Regions from separate parts of the Homo sapiens genome. Here all the other regions are linked to region 3. The links are contacts of gene promoters, found by promoter capture Hi-C in human tissues and cell types (Jung and others, 2019). All regions are on one chromosome and are shown on one strand. Each heading gives the region's core, a stretch centred on a gene start or on the middle of the fragment in contact. The rest is flanking DNA. Distances are from core to core; before and after follow the strand shown. Region 1 overlaps CA9 (carbonic anhydrase 9). Region 2 overlaps TLN1 (talin 1). Region 3 holds the start of DCTN3 (dynactin subunit 3).

Evidence for each region. The method cuts DNA at HindIII sites, captures the fragments that hold promoters and counts their contacts. A contact is called where the count stands out against the background at its distance.
Region 1: a fragment that was not itself captured here is called in contact with the fragment with the promoter of DCTN3 in region 3 in 1 of the 25 tissues and cell types used here (lymphoblastoid cells).
Region 2: a contact is called between a fragment that was not itself captured here and the fragment with the promoter of DCTN3 in region 3, in 1 of the 25 tissues and cell types used here (stomach).

The regions. Positions count from the first base shown.
Region 1 is chr9:35,678,205-35,682,354 of GRCh38, reverse strand. CA9 (carbonic anhydrase 9) reads right to left here. Exons shown (of 11, transcript NM_001216.3): 7 at 3,013-3,170; 8 at 2,357-2,501; 9 at 2,216-2,242; 10 at 1,521-1,602; 11 at 1,196-1,390. The coding sequence ends at 1,330. It also overlaps a transcript of TPM2 not described here. Among named protein-coding and RNA genes, the nearest start is that of CA9, 6.4 kb to the right of the region's middle. The HindIII fragment of the contact is 4,289 bases long and covers 1-4,018 here.
Region 2 is chr9:35,706,803-35,710,842 of GRCh38, reverse strand. TLN1 (talin 1) reads left to right here. Exons shown (of 57, transcript NM_006289.4): 32 at 1-46; 33 at 160-282; 34 at 2,359-2,502; 35 at 2,951-3,112; 36 at 3,355-3,495; 37 at 3,590-3,771; 38 at 3,943-4,040. MIR6852 (microRNA 6852) reads left to right here and starts at 102; the gene lies at 102-167. RefSeq lists an enhancer at 1-62. The HindIII fragment of the contact is 8,507 bases long and covers 1-4,040 here.
Region 3 is chr9:34,617,736-34,622,115 of GRCh38, reverse strand. It overlaps DCTN3 (dynactin subunit 3), which reads left to right and starts at 1,621. Exons shown (of 7, transcript NM_007234.5): 1 at 1,621-1,747; 2 at 3,356-3,440; 3 at 4,145-4,231. The coding sequence starts at 1,652. It overlaps ARID3C (AT-rich interaction domain 3C), which reads left to right. Exons shown (of 8, transcript NM_001017363.4): 7 at 7-96; 8 at 558-1,067. The coding sequence ends at 658. The HindIII fragment of the contact is 3,867 bases long and covers 1,552-4,380 here.

The DNA of each region.
Region 1 (4,150 bases), core at 625-3,124, 1.1 Mb before region 3:
TCCACGTCCGTCCTGTTCCCCTCATCCTAGTCAGTCCATCTGTTTGTCCCTGCCAAGGGGCCCTGAGGTCCGTGAATGCATGTGTCTTCCTTGACCCACTCCATGTCTATATGTCACCTTCCCCTGGCCCTGCCTCCCCACGTCTCCCCCTTGTGTCTCCCTTCTCCCTCACCTGCTGCTTCCCCTCACAGAGACCTTGGCCAGTGCCAAGGAGGAGAACGTCGAGATTCACCAGACCTTGGACCAGACCCTGCTGGAACTCAACAACCTGTGAGGGCCAGCCCCACCCCCAGCCAGGCTATGGTTGCCACCCCAACCCAATAAAACTGATGTTACTAGCCTCTCAAGGCCCTTTAATCCTTTCTTTGGTGTTGGCAATGGAGTTTGAGGGACCCCTGAATGAGCAGGGCCTGGGTCCTTGCTCTGCATTGGGACTTCCTTTTCAGGGGAAACTGGGATGGAGGGCCTGGGCTCATTGAGGAGGGGCTGTGAACAGGCTCTGTGAAGCAGGGAGTCTGACAGGACTGGGGGACATCGTGGGCCTTGTGCCCTACAGGCAGAGGAGCTGCCATCCATAGCACCGCCCTGTTCCAGCAGCCAGCTGGGCCAGACAGCACGTCCTGAAGCAAAAACTGCAAGAAGTGACACATTTTCCTTGAGCAGGGTGAAAACCCAAAAGCCTGAGTGTGATGTTAAGCCTAGGGCTGCTGTCTGCCCTACCCCTCAACACATACACTGCACACACACACAAACACACACACACACACAGCCATCCCAACAGTATCAGTCATTTCTGTCCTCTTCCTGATAGCATCTGTGGTAGGCAGAATAATTCCCCTTCTCCAAAGATGTCCATGTTCTAATCCTGTGCATTGTTCTTATCTTACATGGGAAGAAACTTGGTGATTAAGATTTTGAGATGGGATGATTATCCTTGGTTATCTAGTTAGGCCCAGTGTAATCCCAAGGGTTCTTGAGGAGACAAGGAGGTCAAATGTGGAGGTAGGAGTTGTGACAATGGGAGCAAGAGATTGGAGTGATGTGTGGAAGGAGGAACAAGCCCTACTGACATCTGACTGCTGACCTCCGAACTGTAATAGAATAAATGCATTACCACTAAATTCGTGCTAATAACAGTAATAGGAAATTCAAATACCATCCTTCTGATTTGGGGAACAAAGGTGACTAACACATATTTTATTATAAATATTTATTTTAAAAAATTTCTTGGCAGTTAAAAGGAAGTGGCATAATGAGCAGGACAGGACAGTTACCGGCTCCCCCTCAGATGCCTCTGGCTGGCTTCTCACATTCTCCAAGATCCAGCCTCTAGGCTCCAGTCTCGGCTACCTCTGCTGGGCGGTAGCTCACACCCCCTTTGGTTCCCCTTCTGTGTGTACACAACAGGAAAGGCTAATCAGAAAACTGGCCCAGGAGCAGCTCATTTGCATGCGCTTTGCATGAAGTGACTCCACAAGGGTGGGGGAAGCTTGTGCCTGAAGAAAGGGTCAGTGTAATACCTGTGCTGCCTTCTCATCTGCACAAGGAACGCGACGCTGGTGACAGCAAAAAGGAGGCCAAAAACCAGGGCTAGGATGTCACCTGCGATGGAGAGCAGAGAGGGCTGCTTTGGGAAGGAAGAGGGGTCTGCAGAGTTCCTCAACACCTGCCTCAGTGCACTCCACCACCCCTGCCCCGAGTTCTCAGGCAGCCCCTAGTGCCTCAGTCTCCAGAAGAGGCCAGCCAAGGGATGAGGGTGGATACACGAGAAGGGGTAAGATAAGCACCGTTTTTGCTTCCTAAAAGCCAAGTAAAAGGGCCGTTTGGGGCCAGGCACAGTGGCTCATGCCTACAGTCCCAGTGCTTTGAGAAGCTAAGGTGAAAGGATTGCCTGAGCCTAGGAGTTCGAGGCTGCAGTGAGCTATGATCGTGCCACAACACCCCAGCCTGGGCAACAGAGTGAGACCCTATCTTTAAAAAAAGGGGGGGGATTGTTTTGCGAGAGGGATGCTGGGAGATTTCTCAAGCTTCATTCTAATCAATTAGCCTCTGGGGACAATGGGGGAATCCCCACCATGATCTGCCTCTCTAATATTGGGGTTGGGGTCTGTTCTGCAGAAAAGGAGAGGGAGCAGAGGCGGTCCTGAGCAGCCCTGGGGCTGAATGGTGCTGAGGAGTCTCCTGGCATCAGGACCAAGAGGAGGGGCAGACTCACCAGCAGCCAGGCAGGAATTCAGCTGGACTGGAGAGAAAAAGGAGATGTGAGAGGCGGGCTGTGACCACCAATGACAGACACTGGCACACACATGGGAGGATAAGGGACTACTGGCTGGGGGGAAACCAGACAAAGCTGTACCTGGCTCAGCAGCCCGAGGACTGCTGTCCACTCCAGCAGGGAAGGAGGCCTCAATCACTCGCCCATTCAAAGGCTGCGTCGCTCGGAAGTTCAGCTGTAGCCGAGAGTCACCAGGTCCCCACAGGGTGTCAGAGAGGGTGTGGAGCTAGGGAGGTCAGTGGACAGTGTGGGTGGGTTCATGGCATGACAGGAAACAAGGGTCCCAGGCCAGCTCACAACCAGCACCTCAGGGCTCCACCCTCCAGCTCCTGTATTCCCCATCCAGCCTCTTGATTTCTTTTATAAATAAATAAATGTATCCTAAAGATGGTAGGCAGTGGTGGGATCATAGCTCACTGCAGTCTCAAACTCCTGGAATCAAGCGATCTTCCCACCTCAGCCTCCTTGAGTAGCTGGGACTAGGCGCATACCACCATGCCCGGCTATTTTTGGTTTTGTTGGGGTTTTTTTGGTAGAGATGGGGTCACACTATGTTGCCCCGCCTTGTCTTGAACTCCTGGGCTCAAACCATTCTCCCACCTCAGCCTCCCAACGTGGTGGGATTATAGGCGTAAGCCACAGAGCCCAGCCTTGATTTCTTTCTTCTCCTGTTTCTCATCTCATCTTACATCCTCTTTCCCCCGCACCCACTGTGTCCACACACACCCCAGGCCCACCTGCTTAGCACTCAGCATCACTGTCTGGTTAAACACAGTCCAGATGACACCCTGGGCACAGGGCGGTGTAGTCAGAGACCCCTCATATTGGAAGTAGCGGCTGAAGTCAGAGGGCAGGAGTGCAGATATGTCCAGTCCTGGGACCTGAGTCTCTGAGCCTGTGAAGAGGATCTATGTTGGGGTCTCATCTACATTGCACCCCCTTAAAGCTTCAGGGTATAGGGATACAGTTTCACCTCCCAGAAGCCAAGGTAACTCAACTCTGAGACCACTTCTTCGCTAAGTGCAGGCCCTTCCCATAAGACGTAACTCAAAAAAAAGTACAGGGCTTTGGAGCAACTGGAAGAGGCCTGAGGAAGCAAGAGAGGAAGAAAGAAAGGAAGGAGAGAAGGGAAGGTGGGAGGGAAGGGAGGAAGGAAGAGAAGGAAAGAAGAAAGACCGTCTGAGTCTACACTCTTAACTCTGTGTACCATCATAAAGTGCTGGGCCACAAGTTTAAGCCCAGAGCAAATTAAAAAGAAAAAATGAATCCCAGCACTTTGGGAGGCCGAGGCTGGTGGATCACAAGGTCAGGAGTTTGAGAGCAGCCTGGCCAATATGGTGAAACCCTGTCTCTACTAAAGATGTAAAAAAAAAAAAAAAGAAAAGAAAAGAAAAAATGATCTGAATAACTTGTAAATAAATATGAATATTGATAACTATACAAAACAGACACAAGAAATGCAAAGGCAGAGTTCTACCTAGTCTAGCAGAAACCTAAAAGGTCTAGTAGAGTAAGTGAGATTTAAAATGACCCAAGAGTGACTAAGAAGAGAACGATTTCCAACAAAAGTATTTACAAAGTTAAAATATTTGATGCTTATTAAAGATAAACAGTTCTCAGAAAAAGTTTAGCTCTCCAGACTTGACCTTGACAATTCCAAACACCATTTTTTGGTCTTGTTTTTTTTGTCTCATTTTGGTTTTTGCTTGGTTTTCTTTTTTTTTTTTTTTTTTGAGACAAGAGTCTCGCTCTGTTGCCCAGGCTGGAGTGCAGTGGCACGATCTCGGCTCACTGCAACTTCTGCCTCCCGGGTTCATGCCATTCTCCTGCCTCAGCCTCCCGAGTAGCTGGGATTACAGGCACCCGCCACCACGC
Region 2 (4,040 bases), core at 479-2,978, 1.1 Mb before region 3:
CATGTCCTACTTTGGTTGCCTGGACAGTGTAATGGAGAACTCAAAGGTCAGCACAGCCAGGAACTCGGAGGAGAGAGGGCAGTAGGATGGAGCTAACCAGATGCTGCCCTGGGGTTCTGAGGACATGCTCTGACTCCCCTGATGTCCTCTGTTCCTCAGGTGCTGGGCGAGGCCATGACTGGCATCTCCCAAAATGCCAAGAACGGAAACCTGCCAGAGTTTGGAGATGCCATTTCCACAGCCTCAAAGGCACTTTGTGGCTTCACCGAGGCAGCTGCACAGGTTATTTTCCTGAGATGGGTTCTTTGAATGGCCCCTACTTTCTTTACCCCATTTTCTCTCAGCCTGACATACCTGTAGATAAATCAAGAAGTTTATGTTTGCAAAGCCAACTCTATGGAATCTGGGTTGTCCTCCTCCTGAAGTGGAGACACTTGTCAGCAATTACTGAACACCAGCAGTTCTGATTTCTGTAATTCCTGAACCCTGGTACTTTGGTTAGGATTACACTGCCCAACCGTGAGGCCTTTTCCAGCTGGCTTTCTCAAAATATACTAATTAGCTTATACAAACTATTTTTTCATGTTATTACTACTTTCTTTTTTTTTTTTTTTTTTTTTGAGACAGCGTTTCGCTCTGTCGCCCAGGCTGAAGTGCAATGGCGTGATCTAGGCTCACTGCAAGCTCCGCCTCCCGGGTTCACGCTAGTCTCCTGCCTCAGCCTTCCAAGTAGCTGGGACTACAGGCGCTCACCACCACACCCGGCTAATTTTTTGTATTTTTTTTTTTTTTTTTAGTAAAGACAGGGTTTCACCATGTTAGCCAGGATGGTCTCGATATCCTGACTCGTGATCCACCTGCCTCGGCCTCCCAAAGTGCTGGAATTACAGGCGTGAGCCACCGCGCCTGGCCTGTAATCACTACTTTCTTTTTTTTTTTTTTTTTTTTTTTTTTTTGAGACCGAGTTTCGCTCTGTCGCCCAGGCTGGAGTGCAGTGGCGCGATCTAGACTCACTGCAAGCTCCGCCTCCCGGGTTCACGCCATTCTCCTGCCTCAGCCTCCCGTGTAGCTGGGACTACAGGCGCGCGCCACCATGCCCGGCTAATTTTTGTATTTTTAGTAGAGACGGGGTTTCACCGTGTTAGCCAGGATGGTCTCGATCTCCTGACCTCGTGATCCGCCCGTCTCGACCTCCCAAAGTGCTGGGATTACAGGCGTGAGCCACCGCGCCCGGCCAATCACTACTTTCTTAAAATAGTACTAGTGACAAAATTTCCAGTTACTTGAGTTATCACTTAACTTTGCCTTTTCCCACATTATCAAGTATAAAACTACCTATTAGCTGTAAAGTATTTTGCTTTAGTATATGAATCCTTAAAACAAACTGGCATCATAAGAGTTCACTTCAGACTATTTTCCCTGAAAGCCTACCATCCTAGCCCTCCATCTCCACCACCTCCCTGTGCCCTGTCAGAATAGGCGCCTTGCTCTAGATGGCTTGTTTGATTTTGTTTTTTTGTTTTTTTGGTTTTTTGTTTGTTTGTTTTTTGAGACGGAGTCTCGCTCTGTCGCCAGGCTGGAGTGCAGAGGCATAATCTCGGCTCACTGCAACCTCCGCCTCCCGGGTTCAAGTGATTCTCCTACCTCAGCCTCCCGAGTAGCTGGGACTACAGGCGCCTGCCACCACACCCGTCTGATTTTTGTATTTTTAGTAGAGACAGGGTTTCACTAAACCTCTTTGTTGTTTGTTTGGTTTTTTTCCCCCCACCTTCTGAAAATGCATAGAGGAAAAAGCAAAGCTACTGTGTATTGATTGAAGTATGAATCAAACATTAGGATGTTCTTTCCATCATAAAAATGGCTTTTTAACCCCTCCCTTCCTTTCCAAATATCTGACGCATGGAGGTGCTATAAATGTGAATTAGCCTAATAACCTTCATCAGTTTTGAACTGTCTTTAAAAGAGGCTTTGCTTGTGTGCACAAAGGTGTGTATTTATATATGGCTCTCAAACGTTTTACTGCTACTTACAGTAAGCCATACTTTTCACTCTAAGACCCAACATACACAAACATATCTAAATAGAGATTGGATAAAAACCCTTGCTATGTAGTTTTCCTTTTTATTAACTTTTTTAATCTTCTGAAATGCTTGAATATACTTAATGAAAACAGGAGAGTATTTTTTTTCTTCTTTATAGTGTAACCATTGTTTGCTAATGTATCTCCACTCATGGAGAACTCTGGAAAATAAGCCCTATTCTCTAAACTTACCTCTGCTCTCTTTTGTCCCTACTATCACTATTCATTTCCCACCTGCAATCTTTATTCCTCACCCCCACCCCCTTTTCTCTTCCCAGGCTGCATATCTGGTTGGTGTCTCTGACCCCAATAGCCAAGCTGGACAGCAAGGGCTAGTGGAGCCCACACAGTTTGCCCGTGCAAACCAGGCAATTCAGATGGCCTGCCAGAGTTTGGGAGAGCCTGGCTGTACCCAGGCCCAGGTAACTCAAGGGAACAGGGACCACAGGCGAGTCTGGGAAAGGGCAGACCGACCCCGTGGAGTAGAGGGAGGTGAGGCATGTGGGAAAGAGGGCAGGGACCCATCTCTGACCTTGCACACACAGCTTCTTTTTGGGTAACTGTCTTTTTCTGCCATGGGTCTCATCATTTATCAGTTACTGCTAAATTCACAACTTCTCTGTAGATGTTCGAGCTTACTCTCCCACATGCCCTCTTATGGTTTCTCCATTAGTATGTCTTTCCTCTCCCATGCCCAGTTCATCTTTGGGTATCTCTGTCTCCTAGATCTTGACTTTTCAGGTGACTCTGTTATTCCTGTTTTGACTCCTCAGGGTATTGCTCTCCATCCCCTGACCCTAAAATGGCTCCTCCTTGGGTATGTACACCTCCTTCCTGCCCTCATCGTGGCTCTTCCATGTGTCTCCTCAGGTGCTCTCTGCAGCCACCATTGTGGCTAAACACACCTCTGCACTGTGTAACAGCTGTCGCCTGGCTTCTGCCCGTACCACCAATCCTACTGCCAAGCGCCAGTTTGTACAGTCAGCCAAGGAGGTGGCCAACAGCACAGCTAATCTTGTCAAGACCATCAAGGTTCCCATTGCTTGAATTCCCAGCCTCTCCCTGACCTGTCCTATCTTCTCCCCCGAGTCCCCCAGTTATTCTCTGAAGCCTTCTACCAAATCCCCTCTGCCTGAGCCCAAGCTCTTTCTATTCAGACTGACCACCTAGCCTCTCCCCAAATCCTGTAAGTCCCAGGAAGGAGACCTGGACTTCACTTCCTATACCCCCTATGACTGCATCCCAAGTCCTGAGAGCCTCTCTGTCACTTCTAGGCGCTAGATGGGGCCTTCACAGAGGAGAACCGTGCCCAGTGCCGAGCAGCAACAGCCCCTCTGCTGGAGGCTGTGGACAATCTGAGTGCCTTTGCGTCCAACCCTGAGTTCTCCAGCATTCCTGCCCAGATCAGCCCTGAGGTGAGGCGATGTGAAGGGGGAACTGATGGGCCAGCTTATCACCTCATCTTCCAGGGACTCCTGAGACTTACCTTCCTGCCTCCCCTCTCCCCAGGGTCGGGCTGCCATGGAGCCCATTGTGATCTCTGCCAAGACAATGTTAGAGAGTGCCGGGGGACTCATCCAGACAGCCCGGGCCCTCGCAGTCAATCCCCGGGACCCCCCGAGCTGGTCGGTGCTGGCCGGCCACTCCCGTACTGTCTCAGACTCCATCAAGAAGCTAATTACAAGCATGAGGTATTGAGGGATGGGGAACCAGTGTGGCTGGGGGGCATACATTGTGGCAGAATGGAGGATGGGCACTTGAGTGCAATGAGATGGGATGGTGTTGGGAGGATACAGGGGAAGGATAGGCTGGCCTTGCAGTAGGGGATGTTCTTGGTGTTGGAGCCCATGATGTGTCTGCAGGGACAAGGCTCCAGGGCAGCTGGAGTGTGAAACGGCCATTGCAGCTCTGAACAGTTGTCTACGGGACCTAGACCAGGCTTCCCTCGCTGCAGTCAGCC
Region 3 (4,380 bases), core at 372-2,871:
GGACAGAAGAGCGGCTGGATGGGCCTCTTAATCTGGCAGGCAGTGGCATCAGCAGTATCAACATGGCCCTAGAGATCAACGGGGTGGTCTACACTGGTATGGGTACTGCAGGCTGTCTACACTGGCATGGGGTCAGGGGTATTTAGGCTGGCATGGGGATTTTAGACTTCCTCTACTAGCATGAAGTTCAGGGATATCTAAACTTGCATGAGTAACATGGAGTTCAGGGGATTGCTAGACTGGCATGGGTTAAAGGGGGTGTCTACATGGCATGGGATCCAAGGCATGACCTCTCTGGCATGAGTACCAGGGGATGTCTGCCTTGTCTTGGGCCTATGTATCAGCATAAATATTCCTTGTTTACCTGTTTGAGGTATCTACATTAGCAATGGAGTCTCTTACTGACCCAAGGAGCTTGTCCTCATTGGTTTGTGGCAGGGGTACGTGTGTAGTGTTCTAGCAACCAGAACACTTACTTTTGTTCCCCTCTTCTGTTTCCATACCCTACCCCCTCCTGCTTGTTTTTGCCCTCTACCATCTCCTCACCCCTTTGCCAGGTGTCCTCTTTGCCCGCCGCCAGCCTGTGCCAGCTTCCCAGGGTCCAACCAACCCTGCACCCCCACCCTCCACAGGGCCCCCTTCCAGCATCTTGCCCTGAGAGGTCCTACTTGAAACTAAGAGTCCCAGCCCCATTGCTGAGGGGGGAGGAGACCCCCTGCTTTGATTCTTTCTGGCTGCCCACTCTGGGACCCAGCCCTGGGAGGGGACGACACCTCCCATGCCATGTGGACTTAAAACCAAAGTTTCTTTTGATGTTACACCTACCTCATTGTAAAGGGAGGGCACCTCCTCCCTGGCCAATTCCAGCAGCACCTACCAAAGGGTTCTTCCTCCAGTAACCCCATCATCTCCTCATGTGTTCCCTCTGTCAATGTCATCTCTAGGACCCTACCCTTTTGAGTCAGCCCTGCTTCTCTTCAGGAGCCAAGTGAAAGGTTGGGTTGGGGTACTGTGAAAGAGACATCCCTCAGGTCACATCTAGACAATAAAGCTGCGGTCCCTCCCTCTCTGATGCCTCCTTTCTTGTTTGGGTATGGGAGGTGGGGAGGAATGATGTGGAACATAGGCTGCCTTGGGCCAGGGGCTTTCAGAGGTTAAGGCAGAATAGCAAAGTTTCGTGAGAATAGAAGAGCTCCGTCTCTTGAATCAGACAGCCTGAGTTCAAGTCCTGTTTCTGTCCCTATAGTGCTGGGTGGCCTTGGGCAAGTTACTTAATCAACTGAACCTTAGAAGACTCCAAAAGTTTATGGTAACTCACGGAGCCTCCTAATGATGTATCTATGGGAATGGACCTATCCTGGAACACGTGCAAACTCAGGGAATGGCGTGGGGAAAGCTCTTTGGTACCCGAAAAGCAAAGGTTATCTTGACAACCAGGCACTGGAAGCCAGGGGAGGGATGGGACAGAGCCGTTGCCAAGGTAATCAGCTTTTGACAGCTCCGAGGAGTAACTTCCGGCACTGAAGGGCTGAATCATGGCGTCACTTCCTGCATAAAGGGCCGCTCGTGCACTCGGATTGGCTAGCCTTCTTATTTGGACTGACGTCCCGCCCTCTGGCTGTTTCCTGGCCGAGGTGGGTCGGTAGTAGCGATGGCGGGTCTGACTGACTTGCAGCGGCTACAGGCCCGAGTGGAAGAGCTGGAGCGCTGGGTGTACGGGCCGGGCGGGGCGCGCGGCTCACGGAAGGTGAGTAGTCTGGTCCGGTAGTCCCTTTCTGGAGCAGAGCAAGAGCGGTCCACTGTCCTGGCCCTCGGGATGCAACCGCTCCAGTCCTGTTCTCCGCAGCCCGGCCTTTGAAATAACAAAGGTCCGGGACCTCCCAGAGCTGATTGGACCATCGGGGTCCACTGTCATAGGGGGCTCTGCGGGTGGTTAAGCCAGCCTGAGAGTGGGCTCCGTACCTACTGTAGCTGAGACTCCGCCCTTGCCCTCGCGAGCTATAGTTGGGGAGACCTGACACGAGAAGCTGACTAATGAGAGTTTCAATAAGAGCTGAAGTCCACGATAGGAAGGCCCGTCATAGAGCCCTGCATAATTAATTGCTAAATGAATTGTGCAGGAAGAGGTCCATGGGACCCCTGGGGAGGCAGAGCAGAGGTGGATAAGGAAAACGCCAAAGGGTGAGAAGTGAGGTCTGAAAGGACCAGGATTAGGAAGGGAAGAGACTGGGTACTGGGTATTCAGATGTGGACTAGCACTGCTTTATACCAGTGACAGAATTTTGACAACTACGAAGCTCAGGTGCCCTCTCCTCCCCTTTCTACTATGGGAAGATCTTTTATTGAAGAACTTCTGATGGCGTGTCAGGCATGTCCTGGAGCTAAGTGCGTCCAAGGTAATGATGTCTGTTTGTACACTAAATGAGGAATTAGTTGTCACTAGCAGACTGTGCTCCCATTTCAGAACTAACTTCTCAAACATTCTCTTCCTTTGGGATCTATGACGCTGACCCTCCTGGTTTTCCTTCTACCTCTTACGGCTGCTTCTCAGTGTTATTTGCCTCCCCCCTGGCATTCCTCATCCTCTACCCTAAAAACTGGGTGAGTGCAGTCACTTCCTTAGTCTCCTCCTCTATTTGACCCTTTAATATTGGGATTCTTTACATTCTACCCCTAAACTTTAGGTAGGCTCACTCGCTTCCATGGTGTCAATTACTATTTACATGTCAATATGTCTCAAATGTATATCTCTGGTCCAGATTTCTGTTCTGAGAACCAGACTTTTATGTCTAGTTGTCTACTGGACTTTTCCACTTGGATATCCAATAGTCATTTCAAACTCAATCTGTATGCCCTTAACTGTACTCTTTCTCTCCCCTAACCTGATTCTCTTCTGTATTCCCTAATTCAGTGATTGCACCATCATTGGGATCCCAGTTGTTTGGACTCTTCCATCTCCCACACCAAATTTGATGTGGAGGGGATAGGGCTAGAGGTAGGCCAGCCAATCTAGAGGTCATGAAGGCTTGAATGAGGATGCTTGTGTTTCTCATGCCCAAACCCAGGACTTAGGAACCAGAAAATATATTGTGTATACTCTATATTCCATAGACTCTAAAATAGTTCGTTATCTTCCCCATCAGACTTGAAACTCCCCAAGGAGTACATGATTCTCTCTCTCCACTTTAAGGATTCCTGGAAGGTGGGGCTGCATCTCCTTTAATATTAGAGAAGGGAGGCCAACCTAGATTACTGGGATTCAGGTTTGAGAGTCTGGGAGAATGAGGGTTCTTTAACTTTTCCAAGCCTTGAGCCAGGTAGTATATCTTGGAATTAACCACCACTTCCCTTACAGGTGGCTGACGGCCTGGTCAAGGTGCAGGTGGCTTTGGGGAACATTTCCAGCAAGAGGGAGAGGGTGAAGATTCTCTACAAAAAGAGTAAGTGCTTCCATGATGTGCCTGCCTGCCCGACATCCCACCCCTCAGCTTCCTGGTACCTGGCCCTAGCCCTTCAGTTCATTAGGTCACTGGAATAGCCCTTTGGGGATAGAAAGATTATGAGGACATTTACCTACACCCAATTCAATTGGTAAATTGTGGTGTGCTTTTCTACCTTGTGGCTAAACCTCAAGCCCATGACAGTGTCCTAAGTTATGAAATAAGAGCTCTACCTGAAAGCTTCTCTTGGTGAAGGAGGGTAAAAAGGGTATGGGATTTCCCAGGCAAGGTTAAGGGGCAGGAAACAAATTAGACACTGAGATCCTGGTTATGTCAGAACTAGTAACCTGCTTAGTAACTAGAAATTAGACAAAGCTCTGGCTTGTCTCGGTGACATCTAGGAGAAAAGAGGCCTTCTACCCTTGGTGAGGATAGGTCAGTGAGAATGCTAAGGGCCCAGAGTGGTGGTGGCAATTGTGTTTTCAGCTCTGAAGCTTGATGTCAGAAGAGACTTCAAGAGAAGAGAGTGGAGAGATAGGGAAGTGGGGATAGGGAGCCTGGTGGAGCCCTGCTCATGTGGCACTGTTGGGTATCAGCTCCTCATTGAAGGCTCTCCTCAAGGCTGACCACTTGTCAAACATCCTTCATAAGGCAGAGCTCTACTGCCCAACCCTATTCCATTTTCCATCTTGCTACTTTTCTAGTTGAAGATCTGATCAAGTACCTGGATCCTGAGTACATCGACCGCATTGCCATACCTGATGCCTCTAAGCTGCAATTCATCCTAGCAGGTAATGCTGGACTACATGTGTACATGCATCTGAGGATGTGGGTCGTCGGGGAGGTTAAGCACAGAGATGGCCTCTCCATCCAGTCTTCTGGTGGATACAAGCCCTGGATGCTGCTCTCTGGAATTGTGGCCTGGTTCTGGGTTGAGGAT